2 separate regions of the Homo sapiens genome follow, and region 1 is linked to region 2. Evidence: promoter capture Hi-C in human tissues and cell types (Jung and others, 2019). All regions are on one chromosome and are shown on one strand. Each heading gives the region's core, a stretch centred on a gene start or on the middle of the fragment in contact. The rest is flanking DNA. Distances are from core to core; before and after follow the strand shown. Region 1 holds the start of LOC124902458 (a long non-coding RNA gene). Region 2 holds the start of NDST2 (N-deacetylase and N-sulfotransferase 2).

The links. Contacts are between HindIII fragments. The study calls those that stand out against the background at their distance.
Region 1: a fragment that was not itself captured here is called in contact with the fragment with the promoter of NDST2 in region 2 in 2 of the 25 tissues and cell types used here (lymphoblastoid cells and spleen).

What each region holds. Positions count from the first base shown.
Region 1 is chr10:74,071,806-74,074,505 of GRCh38, forward strand. VCL (vinculin) reads left to right here. Exons shown (of 22, transcript NM_014000.3): 5 at 925-1,047. LOC124902458 (a long non-coding RNA gene) reads right to left here and starts at 973. Exons shown (of 2, transcript XR_007062200.1): 1 at 897-973; 2 at 1-259. The HindIII fragment of the contact is 3,366 bases long and covers 1-2,700 here.
Region 2 is chr10:73,809,937-73,812,917 of GRCh38, forward strand. NDST2 (N-deacetylase and N-sulfotransferase 2) reads right to left here and starts at 1,662. Exons shown (of 15, transcript NM_003635.4): 1 at 1,538-1,662; 2 at 863-967. CAMK2G (calcium/calmodulin dependent protein kinase II gamma) reads right to left here. Exons shown (of 23, transcript NM_001367534.1): 23 at 2,565-2,981. It overlaps NDST2-ZSWIM8-AS1 (NDST2-ZSWIM8-AS1 readthrough), which reads right to left and starts at 1,884. Exons shown (of 18, transcript NR_182658.1): 1 at 1,538-1,884; 2 at 863-967. RefSeq lists silencers at 1,097-1,166, 1,467-2,176. The HindIII fragment of the contact is 10,328 bases long and covers 477-2,981 here.

The DNA of each region.
Region 1 (2,700 bases), core at 18-2,517, 260 kb after region 2:
GTGTTCTGTAAAACTTAATGGCAGTTAAGAATTTGAGCCATCACTGAAGATCACCTGGAAATAGGTTTCTCTGGTGGCTTTAGAGTAGTCCTCTTAAAATTTCTCATAATACTGGCGAAAATTATATTTCCCCAAATGGAATCTTATGCAGAATCCCCAAACAAAAAAAGACAAAATGGAGCTACTTTAGGTGAAGCAGGAGCAGCCCCACCTCTGCTTCTCTTTGGTCTTGATGGTCTGTGAGACAACTTGAGAAATCCTAGGAGTAATTTGAAAATCAAAGCTTTAGAGAATCACATAGCGCCTTTGAATAACAACCAACATAAACAAAAAGTGCTAGCAGAGTGATTCCAAAACACCAGATGCTTTCAAACACTGTCATCCCTATAATTATTTTTATAATATTTCTATTTGTTTCTAATTATAAAACTAGTACATGCTTATTTTGGACAAATTGGAAAGTACAGACAAATAGAAATATGAAAACAAAACATATCATTGTTATTCTTAGAACTTTTTTCAGCCACTAGATTCAGTACTAGGCTCATGTGAGATTTTTAGCACAGAGTTCAGAGACATGGCATGAAACCTGTATGCATAGAAGCCTGGCAAAATGTTTTTCCCTTACCTGTGAATTTCTTTTTAATAAATATATATTTATTCATTTAGATGTTTAATATTTGTGAATATATTTATATCAAAATATGAAAATGTTTATCACATTTAGTGTTTACATTTAATACATTACTTTCATTGAAAAGAGTAATGTTGCATAAATTAGAGTTCAGTGATGGTGTCTGTTGTTTAAATAAGTGAGCAATCGGTTTGAACTTTCATAGTATTTCATAATGGATTTAGACTGAGAAAGCCAGACCCGGGATTGTTTCACTACTCACCCTGCACAATTTCTTCTTTGTGCCCCAGGAATGACTAAGATGGCCAAGATGATTGACGAGAGACAGCAGGAGCTCACTCACCAGGAGCACCGAGTGATGTTGGTGAACTCGATGAACACCGTGAAAGAGTTGCTGCCAGTTCTCATTTCAGGTACTTCCTGCCTGTACTTTATTTTATAGGGGGGAAAAATGTTAGCATGTTCTAAACTCTGAGGTTCATTTTGTTTTCTTTTGTTTTCTTTTCTTTTTTTTTTTTTTGAGATGAAGTCTCACTCTGTTGCCAGGCTGGAGTGCAGTGGTGCGATCTCGGCTCACTGCAACCTCTGCCTCCTGGGTTCAAGCGATTCTCCTGCCTCAGCCTTCTGAGTAGCAGGCACTACAGGTGCGCACTGCCATGCCCAGCTAATTTTTGTATTTTCAGTAGAGACGGGGTTTCACCATGTGGGCCAGGATGGTCTTGATCTCTTGACCTCGTGATCTGCCTGCCTCAGCCTCCCAGAGTGCTGGGATTACATGCGTGAGCCATGGCTCCTGGCCTGAGGTTCATTTTCTTTTGTGGCTTCACTGCATGTCCTTCAGCCTAGGTAAAAATGAGACCCGATTGATTGGTTATCACATGATGGCTGTAGCTGATTGGCTGAGAACCAGTCTTCTTCTCTAATGCTGTCCTTCTCCTGTTCTTTGTTTGAAATTGCCTTTCTGTGGCCTAATTCTGTTCTCCTAAAGCTCTAACAAGCCCCTTTGCTGGGAGGTGGACTCTCCTCTATAAACTCTAGCCTAGGATATTAAATTTTCACACCTTTGTGTTATAGAAAAATAATTAGGAGCTGGAATGGATATTATAGAGCATCATATGATAAAGACATGAACTCAGAGCCCTTTTTAGTGTGTATTAATCCAATTTTTCCTAAAAGATATTTAACTGTTGTTTACATCATGAGTAGATCAGTTCTTTAGTCACCAGCTGGGACTACCTTCCCATTGAGTAGTGCTCTGAAATGCAAACATGGTAGCTGCTCTCTCGACTAGCAAAAGGGAGTAGCACTTATTGAGTGTCTAGTATATGCCAGACAGCTCATGGTTTATATGAATTATCTTAGTCAAGTTGTGGGTTAATTAGTTATTTCTCAGAAGGCAACTTTATTATAAAAATCTGGTGACTCATGTCATTGTGACTTCCAGCTACCTGCTTTGGTGTTTCAAGTAGTAGCTAAAAAAGGACATATGAGTATAAGAGTTCAGGAGGCTGGGCACAGTGGCTCACTCCTGTAATCCCAGCACTTTGGGAGGCCGAGGTGGGTGGATCACCTGAGGTCAGGAGTTCGAGACCAGCCTGGCCAACATGGCAAAACCCCGTCTCTACTAAAAACAAAACAAAACAAAAATTAGCCAGGATTGGTGGCAGACGGCTATAATCCCAGCTACTCAGGAGGTTGAGGCAGGAGAATTGCTCAAACCCAGGAGGCGGAGGTTGCAGTGAGCCGAGATCACGCCGAAAGTGTTGGGATTACAGGCGTGAGCCACCATGCCCAGACATTATTTTTTTCTTCTTTATGTTTGGGGGTTGGCAAATCCAAGCTACATGTTGAGAGAAATCTCGGATGATAAACTTGACATCTTGGGATCTTCTGCTGGGATCAGGGGCAGCAGGATACGCCATTCAGAGTATTACTGACAGTTTTCATATTGTCCCATTAGGTTTGTAGTAGATGGAGCCAGGGTGAGGGCCAGGATGATAACTGATTTAGAAGGATATTAGATATTTTGTGATTGCAGGTCATCAGCATATGCAGGTTAAATTAGT
Region 2 (2,981 bases), core at 412-2,911:
TGCCCAGGCTGGTCTTGAACTCCTGGGGTCAGACAGACAATCCTCCGGCCTCAGCCTCCTGAGTCTGTTCTTTTTCTTAAATCGACTGCTTCTGTAAGCTTTATTGTCACTATCCCCACTCAGCCTCCTTGTAAGGCTGGCAATCCCTCTCTACCACCCACCCCCAAACACACATCTCAGGGGTGATAAGGCAGAGCTGAGGTCCTTCAGAATTGACAGAGATGATTTAAAAACAGTTCAGGACAGGCGTGGTGCCTCACGCCTGTAATTCCAGCACTGTGAAAGGCCGAAGCGGGTGATCACTTGAGGTCAGGAGTTCGAGACCAGCCTGGCCAACATGGTGAAGCCCCGTCTCTACTAAAAATACAAAAATTAGATGGGCATGGTGGTGGGCGCCTGTAGTCCCAGCTACTCAGGAGGCTGAGGCAGGAGAATCACTTGAACGTGGGAGGCGGAAATTGCAGTGAGCTGAGATTGTGCCACTGTACTCCAGCCTGGGTGACAGAGCTAGACTCCAGCTCAAAAAAAAATAAAAATAAAAATAAAAATAAAACAGTTCAGCTTTGGCCTAGGTAAAACGACACGAGAAGACAGCTGGGGGAGAGGATCAAAATGGTGACGGGAAGGGGTGAATGCTAAGAATGTGATGCAACTTTAGAGAAAACATTGTAGTGAGGAGGTCACTGACGGGAAGTTGATACTCAGGGTGTATCATCCCGTATTTGAGAAATTACAACTTGCCAGCCATTCTTCTAAGAGCTTCACATATATTTAATCTTCACACCAGCCCTAAGAGGTAGGGAAAAGGTACATGCTCCATTATCCCCATTTCACATATGAGTAACTCAGAGAAGCTTAGAACCTTGCCCAGGATCACACAGCTCAGTTGGTGGGAGGGCTGGGATTCGACGTCAGGCCTGTCAAGCTCCAGAGCCGCGTTCTTAGCCGCTGCATTTTAGCTTCATACCTGGAAGAAGCAGCAAGGTTTAGGGAAGGGGCGCCGGGAGCGCCGCAGGCCGGGCCAGTGAACACTGAGGGCCAGCAGGGCTGGGCGGGGTGGGTGTGTGCGGGAGATCTCTGAGGACGGCGAAGCCAGACGGGGGCCGGGGCCGGGCCCGGGCTTGGGGAGGCCGGGACGGCCGGAGCAGCGGCGCGGAGGCTGCGGGCGCCGAGGGGGCCCGGGGCTGGCGGGTGGAGGGGCCCCGCCGAGAGGAGACGGGGGCACAGGTGGATGCGAAGAGCGCACCGGATGTGGGACACCAAAGGGGAAGGGGCCACAGGCGCGCGGCGGCGACTCCGGGGTGACATCGAGACAGCCTCTGGGCTGGGAGAGCCCTGCGGGAAGAAGGGAGCCCGCCCGGTCCGGAGGGGAGCGAGGCGGTTCTGAGGGAGGCCGGCGGAAAGGACCCGGGGCGCGGCGCACGCTGGGCCGCCCGGGACGACCCTGCGGGTGGTGATGGTGGCAACATCCAAGGGAGTCTGTTGGGGGGGCCTGAGCGCGACCGTGGGCGGGGGGGTCTCCTCAGGGGCGGCTCACCCGGAGGACTGGGCGGCGTCCCCGCTGTCCCCGGGCTCCGCCGCGTCCCGGGGCTGCCCGGCTTCCCTGCTTTCGGGGCCACGGGCCGCGTCGCGGCTGCTCCGCCATCTCCGAGCGAACGCTCTGCCGCAGCCTGGCCCAACCACCGCTCCCACCGGGGGAGGCGGCGCGCCGCCGCTGGTGGCACCCGCTCGGATCCACCGGCTCCGGCCCTAGCAGCCGCGCGACCTGGGTTCCGGGAAATCAAGCGGCCCTCCGCAGTGCCGGGCCGAGCCGCGGCCTCCGAGACGGCGGGCTCCGCGCCCCGCCCGCGGAAGCGCACCCCCTCCTCTCCGCGCGATGGCACTGCCGGCCGAGCGTCGGGGACCACGACTTCGGAGCAGGGGCGGGCTCAGGCCTGGGCTCATCCACTCAGCCCCGCGGAGGGGGAGCCGGGCCGGCCCACTCGGGGGAGGGGAGGAGTAAGAGGCGGAGCGGCCTAACCGGAGGCGGGACCAGGGGCGGGGCGAGGCCCTCAGCCGGCTCCCAGGGCACTCACCCTCCCTCCCCGCCCCGCGTCGCCTGCGCAGCACCGAGCGCTGTTTGGAGGCTGTTTATGAGAAGTTTTTTTTTTTTTTTTTTTTTTTTTTTTTTTTTTTTGAGACGGAGTCTCACTCTGTCGCCTGGGCTGGAGTGCAGTGGCGCGACCTCGGCTCACTGCAACCTCCCCCTCCCAGGTTCAAGCGATTCTCCTGCCTCAGCCTTCCGAGCAGCTGGGATTACAGGCGCCCGCCACTATGCCCAGCTAAATTTTTTGTATTTTTTAGTAGAGACGGGGTTTCACCATATTAGCCAGGCTGGTCTCGAACTCCTGACCTCGTGATTCGCCCGCGTCGGCCTCCCAAAGTACTGGGATTACAGGCATGAGGAAGTTTTATTCTCAAAAGTACCCAAAGGGAGTAGGAGGAGGTACTCTCTCCAACCTGGTAAGCCAGGCTGCTAAAATCTACGCCTCTGGCCGTAAACCTCCAACAGCAGTAACACAATGGACTGTTTAAAGGTTATTTTATTAAATATTTTCAGTTCAAGGTTTCATTGTAACAAAGCTATGAAGGGTCTACCAACATTCAGAACAAACACTATTTTTAAATTATTTCTATGTTGTCATGCAAAAATTCTGCATCAAATGCCTTCCGTTTCTTGTTTAAAAGGTGATTTTTTAATAGTCTATTGTCTATAGATGCTGACATTAGCCCCAGAAGAGGAGTAAGAATGCTAAGAAGTGGGGCTGGAGCAGCCATATGAAGCTATGGGTCTCAATGAATTCTAAGACCATTTGTCTTCAAGCCAGCAAAACGAAACCCTGTGGTGAAGGGATTTGCGTGCTGGCACTGCAGACTGCAGGGCAGGAAAGGGCTAGGGCCCAGGGGCTGGGACATGCATGAGGTGCTCGGAGGAGCCTGGC